Regions from separate parts of the Homo sapiens genome. Here region 2 is linked to region 1. Evidence: promoter capture Hi-C in 16 types of primary human blood cells and fetal thymus (Javierre and others, 2016). All regions are on one chromosome and are shown on one strand. The core of a region is centred on a gene start or on the middle of the fragment in contact, and the rest is flanking DNA. Distances in the headings are between cores, read along the strand shown.

Region 1 (4,895 bases), core at 726-3,225:
TCTCCACTCCGGTTCTCTGCTTGCGGGGTTCCCTCTGCCTCAAGCAGCAAGCCTCTCTACCTTTTAAGATTCTCCTCAAATGCTCCTTCCCCTGTGGATTCCCCAATTTCCCAGCCCCTTCCTGACTCCACCCCATACTCTAAATCTCCATCGCCCTGGCCTCTTTTCAGGCATCTGTCTTACTCTGTCTTGCTTCAATAGCTCCCTGAGGTCTTGCTCCAGCCCTCCAAGGGAGCGAGTATGTCTTATTCAGCTTTGATTCATCAGGAGCACACAGCACACTACCTGGCAGACGGCAGACACTTGAGAATGGGTCTACCGCTCCAAAATCGTTCACCTCAGAAGCATAGGAAGCGATAGGCAAAGGGACACAGAGTCACACAAACAGAACACTAAAGCCAGCAGACACAAAACACGCCAGGGGAAAAGAGGCGTCAAGAGGAAATTGAACCAGGGGAACTACATCTGGCCTTACCCTTCTTGAACTCCTCCAGCATGGCATCCAACTTGGTGTCATGGAAGACAAAGTGCACCGGGTGGTTATAGAAGCGAGTGATAGTCTTGAGGGGGGTGCAGTCATCGGGGTCCACAAAGGCCAAGTCTTTGACGTAGAGAATATCTACAATATTGGACTGCTCGTCTTCGAACACCGGGATGCGAGTATAGCCGCTTTCCATTATCTCCGACATGGTGTTGAAGTCCAGGATGGCATCGCTGCGGATCATGAAGCAGTCCTGGAGCTGGGTCATGATATCCTCTACAGTTTTGGTCCGTAGTTCCAGGGCACCCTGGATCATATTGAGCTCCTCTTTCACGAGGTCATTATAGGGCTCCGTCACCTTCAACATCTCCATCAGCTTCTCCCGGTTGTAAACAGTGCGAATCTCCTGGCCCAGAAAAAAGTCCAGGAGCTTGCTAATGGGAAAACTGAGGGGGAAGGTGAGTAGCATAAAGAATTTGGTGAGAAGGATGGTGTTGGCACCCACAGCCAGCCCATGTCGGGAGCACAGGGCCTGAGGTAGGATCTCCCCAAAGATGACAATGCCAATGGTGGAGGAGGCCACCGCCATGAGGCCGGACCCGATGAGGTTGTCTAGAAGGATTGTGAGGGAGGTGTTGACCAGCACGTTCCCTAGGAGCAACGAGCAGAGAAGGTAGTTGCCCTTGCGCCGGATGGGCTCAATCTTGCGGGCATAGCGCCTCTCCTTCTCGGTGCCACAGTTCTGCACGATGCGCAGCTCCATGGGGTCCAGGGCCATAAGCCCGAGGTTGAGGCCAGAAAATATGCCCGACAGCACCAGCAGCACCGTAATTAGGAGAATGTGCAGCCAGAGAGGCAGGAACCTCCCAGGCTCCTCCACCATGAAGAGCAGTGAGTCCTTGTCCGTCCACTTCAGCCAGGGCCCGTCGGGCTGGGCCCGGGTGCACAGTGCATACAGCTTCATGCTCTCGCTCCTCCGGAGGAACTTGGTGAGCACCACCAGCACGCCGGACGTGTTCCCGCGGCTCACGTTGACCAGCTGCTGGACGACCAGGTCCTTGGTGAGCTCGAGGCAGCTGGTGGACTTGTGGAGGGTCTCGGCATCGTCCACCTCGGTGAAGGAGATCAGGTTGCTGGAGATGTTGCCCAGGCTGTAGCCGTACAGCCTCAGGTTCACGGTGCTGCCCTCGGACACGAAGATGATGCCATCCGGGTTCGTCCCACACGACTTGTTGCAGCTCGCCAGCCTCATGCCCACGATCGTGCCCTGCTGGGGGCTGCCCTGGCCCCGGGCCCCCAGCGCCCACAGCAGCACCAGCAGCACCGGCGCCGCCAGGAGGAGGCGCCCGCGGGCCGGTCCGCCGACCGGGCGCCCGCCCCCGCCCACCGGCGCCATGTTGCTCTGGCTCTGCCGCCGCCGCCGCTCCCCGCGCCACGCCGCGCGGCCCCGGTCCGCACCGCAGCTCCGGCCGCTCCGCTGCCGCCGAGCCAACTGCCCGGGCCGCGAGCCTGACGTCAGGTCAGCGCCCCGCCCGCCCCGCCCCGCCTGCCCACGCCCCTCATTTGCATTGGAGGCCCCGCCCCCGGGGCTCGCTGCTTGAGCGCCCGCCCTTAAGGGGGTACAGTCGCTTAAGGTGGAGCAGCGCCGCCGCGCGAGAGCCGCCAGCGGGTACCCGCCCAGTGCTCCGCCTCCGCGCCCTTCCCCGCCTTTCTCTGCCAGTGGGGCCAGCTCTCCTTCTCCGGGACCTGGTCTCCTAGCTACGCCGTTCCTGTTCCTCGGCCTCGCACGGCCGCACGTGGGAGGCTCCTCTCCCGTCCCTCACCTGCAGCTAGGGGTGGCCCGCTCTGCAGGCAGGGCGAGAAAAGTGCTTTTCCTGATGTAGAAAAAGAAAAAGGAAACCTGAGGGCTTAGGCTGGCATTGCAGCCTGCCCCTTGGAGACTTTTCTGGCCTCCTCACTGCTGAGATTTTTGCCGACCTTGTCCTAAGGCCAGAAGTAGGTTACCCCAGCCCCAGCCCCAGCCCGACGATGCTTCCATCAACCAGTGGCTGCCTGATGTGGAAGGCAAATCTGGGGAACTAAGGTTATAGAAGGGGCAGGCTCTGGCCTAGACTTCTCTCCTGTCTCTTCCATTTAGGCATAGATATTTATTGAACACCTACTTTGTACCAGGCACTTGTTCTAGGCTCTGACAATAGAGCAGTGAACAAGCCAAAGTCGCTGCCCATTGGGGTTTACAGTCTAGAACAGAAAACAGGAGATAAACAAGTAAACACATATATTCATTAAATCCCCCCAACAACCCTCAGAGTTAGTAGAATTATTTCCATTTAGAGATGCAGAAATTGAGCCGAGACAAAAATCCTGGTGCCTCCATACTGTCATCTCCCAGCCCATTTCTCCATCTGTAAATGGGGGTAAGAATGACAGAGCATTACTTCGCTAAGCTTGCGGGATTGTGGACCTAGACATTGAACATGACAGGACAGCTCTTTAGAATATTCTTTGGCTAGGTAGTAGTTGTTGCTACCTGCCTTCCAGGACCAAACTCCTAACCCCAAATTGTGGTGATTGATCAGCTGGGCAGCTGCTTGTGGACATGAGCAGGCAGGCGCGGCAGTGGGCCTATCCCTGAAATGACTGCTTCCTGAATGGCCCTAGCCCTGTGTCAGTAGGGTGTATAAGGAAGACCACAGCTGCCCGCCCTGTGAGGGGGAAGAAGACAGACAGATAAACATCCTTACAATAATTGCACAGGTGCACAGAGAAGATCAGGTACTGGGTTGACCACCAGGTCTCACAGCAAATCTTTTGCCAGTACTGAAGACACAGAACCCACTTTACTCCCTTCCCGCACTGACACTTGTATTTATTTTCATTTTGGTGTAATGTTTGCTAATAAAAGCAGCAATCAGTACCAAACGGAAGGAGCCTAAACAGAAAGGATCACACAATGTTGTGGGAGGAGGTGTGGTAGCAGAGAGGCCCTGACTCAAGAAAGCCCTGTTAGCTGGGATTGAGGGTTCTGTAAACTAGGCCAGCCTGGAGAAGTATGTTGCTAGTAGGGGCCCCACTCATAGCGGATACTTTGCAGTGAGTGCCCAGCAGGTCAGTTTTTTCGAGGAATAGGAGCCTTGGAATGGGCACTGGCTGAGACAGAACAAAAGCAGAACCTTGACTGCCTGTTCCTTCCCTGTCTCCACCAACCAGGAAGAGCTACCTGAATTGCCTCAAAGCAAACCCAGCTCTCCTCATCTCCTAGTGAGCTGTAACACCAGCGCCCTGCTCCACCCCTACCCCCACCTCCCATACTTAGAAACTTTCCCATTCTATTATCAATCAATTGGCTATTTTTTCCCTTTTTCTTATGATTTTATTTTTTTCTCTATTATGTCTTTTTTCTGCTTAAGTACGAATTGGCTCCTTTTATTTTACCCTTTTCAGGCTGTCTACACTCAGAAGCTCTGTTCATATGCACTGAGTCTAATGACAGAAGCCAATAAAGAAAAGGAAAAATAAGTTTTTTAGATATTTAGGTTAAATGTGGGATTACCAGCTTGGGCAACATAGCAAAAACTCATTTCCACTAAAAATTTAAAAAATAAAAAGTTAGCTTGGCATGATGGTGCACACCTGTAGTCCCAGGACCTTGGGAGGCCAAGGCGGGCAGATCACCTGAGGTCAGGAGTTCAAGACCAGCCTGGCCAAGATGATGAAACCCCGTCTCTACTAAAAATACACAGTTAGCCAGGTGAGGTGATGCACGCCTGTAGTCCCAGCTACCCGGGAGGCTGAGGCAGGAGAATCACTTGAACCCGGGAGGCGGAGGTTGCAGTGAGCCGAGATCACGCCACTCACTCCAGCCTGGGTGACAGAGCGAGACTCCATCTCAAAAAATAAATAAATAAATAAATAAATAAATAAATAAATAAATAAAAATAAAAAGATAAACACAGTATCACTTGTTGGAGAAGGCACACGGGGCCCAGGCCGAAGTCCAGGTTCATTTGCTGCCAGCTTGCAACCCTGGTTAGGGAGTCTGCCTTTTCTGCATCTGCCATGTCGAAATACCTCTCCCACCGTAGGGACAGCATGGAGATAGCAGTCTATTAACATGCTGAGTCAGGAAGCTTGGATGCATGTGTGGCTCTCTGTTAGCCAGGCGGTGAGAATGGCAGAAAGCAAACGTGCAAGCGAGGAGCCTCTCTCCTTTGGGGGCAGATAAAGGCATGATCAAACCTGTTTTCTCTGCCTCAAGGTGGCAAGTCCTTACTTACCTAGTTGCTTCTATTTGCAAGTAGAAATTGCCCAGAGGAGTCCTGATCCTGGACCCCTGAGCATGTAACAGCACCCTAGTCATGAGATCCTTGGAGCTCACTGCTTCTTTCCAGGTGTAAGCCCTATGGCAACATGG
Region 2 (4,586 bases), core at 677-3,176, 160 kb after region 1:
AAGTGAGTGTTTATTGGACCATCTGTGTCTATTCCTTTTTTCCCTTCCCTCTGTTTCTGGTTTATTTAGTGCTTTGGAAAATGATGGATTCTGGATTCTTGTCAGTTTTGGAAATGTGACTTACTTCTGATTGGGATCTTTGTCTTGCTTTTGAGTCAACCCAGAGTTCACTTTTACTTAAGACTCCAAATCGTCCCCTGGCTTTTGCTATAAGTCCTGTAAGTAAGGACTTTTAGAAGACTAGAGGCCAGGTACAGAAAGTGGGACAAAGAAGCTGAAGGTTTTTGGTGTATGTCTGCTGCTGAAAGCCTTGCTGGGCCCCACTCTGTACCCTGCCAGTGTTGCTAGGGCTTGCTGTCCTGTGACCTTTGGATAACAGAGCTCCTTCCTTTGTCTCCAGGTCCAGTTCTTCTGAAGGTGGAGTCTCAGCCAGCCCAGTCCCTTCAGTGGTCTCCAGCAGCACTGCACCCAGTGCCTTGCACACACTGCAGAGCCGCCTGGTGGCCACATCTCCTGGCAGCTCCCTCCCAGGTATCTTGTGGCCCAGCATTCTCCCCTTCCAACACAGAATTTTTGGTCTGCTGCTTCTGGGTGGTCCTGGGAAAGCATCCCTGGAGCTAAATCCATAGGATGGGCCTCTGGGTCTTAGAGTGATCATAGAGGCTTGACGTGAAGCTGGAATTAGCTTGGGCAGAGGGATTCCTTGGCCTTGAATAAATGCAGTGAGTAAATGTCCTGGTCTGCAAGTGAGTAAATGTTCCAGTCTACAGGTGCTGTATCCTCTACTGTAAGGAGAAATAGCCGATAGGACATATATGTATAGTCAGCCTTTCTTATCCACAGGAGATTGGTTCTAGGACCCTCACCACTACCAAAATCCATGGATGCTCAAGTCCCTTATATGAAATTATGTCATACCGTTGGAATTCTATATCCACAGGTTTCTATCCGTGGTTGTTTGAATCTGCAAATCTGCTGTGAAGCTCACAGATAATTGAGAGCTGACTGTGGTTTTACTTTGCTGTTTTAAGCACATCTGCCTGAATAAAACTGGAAATGGTGCTACACTGGGCATTAGCAAAATGAGACATTTTTCTGTCTGTGCTTGTCTCTCTCTTTGTCCTACCCACTAACCCTACTTTGAAAGGCCTGTTGCCTGAGCCCAGCAGGGCCAAGGCATTGCAGAAACCCTCTCCTGGCCAGGCATGGTGACTCACACCTGTAATCCCAACACTTTGGGAGGCCGAGGTGGGTGGATCACCTGAGGTCAGGAGTTTGAGACCAGCCTGGCCAATATGGTGAAACCCCGTTTCTACTAAAAATACAAAAAATTAGCCGGGTGTGGTGGTGGGCACCTGTAATCCCAGCTGCTTGGTAGGCTGAGGCAGGAGAATCGCTTGAACCCAGGAGGTGGAGGTTGCAGTGAGCTGAGATTGTGCCATTGCGCTCCAGCCTGGGCAACGAGAGCGAAACTCCGTCTCAAAAAAAAATAAAATAAAATAAACCCTTTTCCTTTAAGAGAACCTTTCTTATTGCTTTGAGGCTACTTCCTTACTGCTTTGATTGTGTGAGGCGAAGTGAAAGTTGGATATTTATAATTCTTTTGGCTTAAAAAGTTCTTCCCTGGAAAGAAAGGAACAAACTTGGATTTCTCAAAATGGTCTAAAATGTATGACTGATGGTTTGCAGCAGGTGCAGAGCAAGTCCGGGGCAGTGTCTGGCACAGTACCTTTCCTGTGTGGCATCCATTGCGTGTGTGCCTAGTTGGGGAGAGCTTCCTGCCTTCTCTCTGAGGACGGGTGTCCAAGGGCAAGCACCACTGGTGTTTTAGTTGGTGGTGAGGGTGGATGGATGTGGCTGCTCTCGGGATAGTGCAAGTGATTGAGTCTCTACTGATTCCTGCTATGTCCTCTCTTAGGGGCCACATCAGCCAGCAGCCTCCTCCAAGGCCTCAGCTTCAGCTTGCAGGATATCAGCAGCAAGACCTCTGGCCTTCCAGCAAATCCCTCCCCAGGACCAGCCCCACAGGTGCACATCTGCCATCTGCTGGGCTGGGCAGGTGTAGGGAGGAGGCCTCCTCAGCTTAGTTGGTTTTGGCAGGGAAACTAGGTCTGGAGTCAGTGGATCAAGGACAAACAGCCTTCTAGCTACATAGCAGGGAACTTACAAAAGTTAAGGTCTATCATTTACTGTGTGACCTTGGGCAAGTTTCTTGACCACTCTGTTTTTGTTTCTTTGTCTATAAAATGAGGTAATAATAGTACCTCCCTCATAGAGTTGTTATAAGAATGAAATAATATATGCAAAATGCCTGGAAGAGTACCTTGCATGTAGTAGGCACTCAATACATGTTAGCCTTTAATAATATGCTGTGGGCCCTCCAAGCTCGAATGTTGCTGTTGGGCGACAGCTTCTGATCACCTGGGCTTGTGTGTCCCACAGGCCACCAGTGTGAAGTTGCCCACCCCCATGCAGAGCCTGGGTGCCATCACCACGGGCACCAGCACCATTGTCCGTACCATTCCTGTGGCCACCACTCTCTCCTCCTTGGGTGCCACTCCTGGTGGGAAGCCCACAGCCATCCACCAGCTGCTGACCAATGGGGGCCTCGCTAAGTTGGCAAGCAGCCTCCCTGGCCTGGCTCAGATCTCTAACCAAGCATCAGGTGAGTCTCTCATGAGAACTGTGGGGACTCCCAGATCTGGGATCTTTCCCCCAGGACCTTCCCATCTCATGTGGGCAAGGTATGATGTTGAAACCAGTCCCACAGGGTCCTGGCATTGACCTTTGGATTCAGCTGTGTGGACCCATCCCCCAGAGAGGTTGAGAGAACACAGGCTGTTTCCTGTTGCCTTTCAGATTGACTGATAGGGCATAGATGACCCAGCTGGGGAGGAGGCCAAGGGACTGTGTTATGTGGGGGAGAAGCTCTCCAGGAAAGGAAAGCCTCAGTAGAAGGTGGAGAGTGTGACTCAAAAATTCTGCTTCTCTCTCTTTATCTCAGGCTTGAAGGTCCCCACCACCATTACTCTGACACTTCGTGGCCAGCCGAGCAGGATCACTACACTGAGCCCTATGGGCTCAGGAGCAGCCCCATCCGAGGAGTCCTCTTCCCAGGTGCTGCCCTCCAGCTCACAGGTGAGTCTGCCAGGAAGGACTGAGGACATGGGCTTCATTATTGGGAAGTTTAAGACCAGCTGACTGGCTGATTGAAGGGGCTGCCCATGCACTGGACAGACGAGATTCAGATTCAAATTCAAATCTGTATTCTGGAGTTTGTGGCTTTATAATATTGAGCGAATCATGGACATCTTTGAGCTTCCTCTTCTACATCCCTCCCTTGATATTGTGAAGAGTACATATGTTCAAGTGGGTAGCAGTGTCTAGTATTTAATGTTTTTGTTTACTTTTCCTTTCGTTTCATTTTTTTCTCATCCTTGGTTTCATCCTTCAGAGGTTATGAGTAGAGGCTACTTGGCTAATGCTCTTTCTTTGTTTTTATTTTTATTTTTTGAGATGGAGTCTTGCTCTATCGCCCAAGCTGGAGTGCAGGGGTGTGATCTCGGCTCCCTGCAACCTCCACCTCCCCGGTTCAAGCAATTCTCCTGCCTCAGCCTCCCAAGTAACTGGGATTACAGGCGCCCGCCACCATGCCCGGCTACAACAGGGTTTCACTGTGTTGACCAGGCTGGCCTCGTACTCCTGACCTCAAGTGATCTACTTGTCTCGGCCTCTGAAAGTGCTGGGATTACAGGTGTGAGCCACCGCTCCTGGCCCTTTCTTTGTTTTTAAGGACATGGAGACAGAGATATCTCACTATGTTGCCCAAGCTGGCCTTGAACTCCAAGGTTTAAGTGGTCCTCCCGCCTCGGCCCCCAAGTATAATACTCTTTCTTTGACATTGGCTTTCTAGCACTGTGCCTTCCCATATCTTAGCATTTATTGCTGTCTTTTTAGGGCACAGCTAGGTTTTTATAGGTCTCACCCAGGAAGTCATGATTAGTTTCTCTTAGCTGATCTAATTTCCCCTGTGACCTTTTCAAGTCAAATATTTCTAATCTTAAAATGGTAATCTGAGGAGCCACTCAAAGATTAGAAGTTAAGCCAAAAAACAGTTTGAGTCTAGTACTGAGTGTGCTTTCCTTCAGTATCCGCTATACAGCCAAGGCCTTCCTGTGTCTCCCTGTCCTTTCCACCATGTCAACCTGCTTGTGAACTGGAGGTGCAGTGATAGTTCCTGAGCCATTCTAAAAGCTCTTCTGTCTCTTCCTCTTTAGGGAAAATACTGCACAGAGGTCAACACCTGACATTCGTTGGGATCATAGCTACCTTTTTTTGCAGAGGGATGGAAATGTTTTAATTTTATCTTATTTCTTATTTTTTCAATTATAAAAATGATTATGCTTATTTTAAATAATTCAAACATTATAGAAATAATTAATTTAGAAAGGGAAAGTTTCCCATGATGCTACTCCTAGAGATGATGTTCACTGTTAATAGCCTGATATGGATCCATTCAAATTTTTTTTTCTACACAAAGTATGTTATTTTATTTATTTTGTACAAATATGGGATTACAGAGTATG

What was found. The method cuts DNA at HindIII sites, captures the fragments that hold promoters and counts their contacts. A CHiCAGO score of 5 or more calls a contact.
Region 2: a contact is called between a fragment that was not itself captured here and the fragment with the promoter of CNNM4 in region 1, in 17 of 17 cell types (megakaryocytes, M0 macrophages, monocytes and 14 more). The highest score is 20.7, in megakaryocytes.

The regions. Positions count from the first base shown.
Region 1 is chr2:96,757,982-96,762,876 of GRCh38, reverse strand. CNNM4 (cyclin and CBS domain divalent metal cation transport mediator 4) reads right to left here and starts at 1,975. Exons shown (of 7, transcript NM_020184.4): 1 at 476-1,975. The coding sequence starts at 1,877. RefSeq lists enhancers at 750-1,338, 1,218-1,467, 1,339-1,928, 2,488-2,537 and silencers at 1,431-1,614, 1,738-2,157. The HindIII fragment of the contact is 3,226 bases long and covers 1-2,930 here.
Region 2 is chr2:96,600,195-96,604,780 of GRCh38, reverse strand. KANSL3 (KAT8 regulatory NSL complex subunit 3) reads left to right here. Exons shown (of 21, transcript NM_001115016.3): 16 at 1-2; 17 at 401-531; 18 at 1,919-2,028; 19 at 2,443-2,665; 20 at 3,005-3,138. Among named protein-coding and RNA genes, the nearest start is that of KANSL3, 36 kb to the left of the region's middle. The HindIII fragment of the contact is 6,934 bases long and covers 1-4,586 here.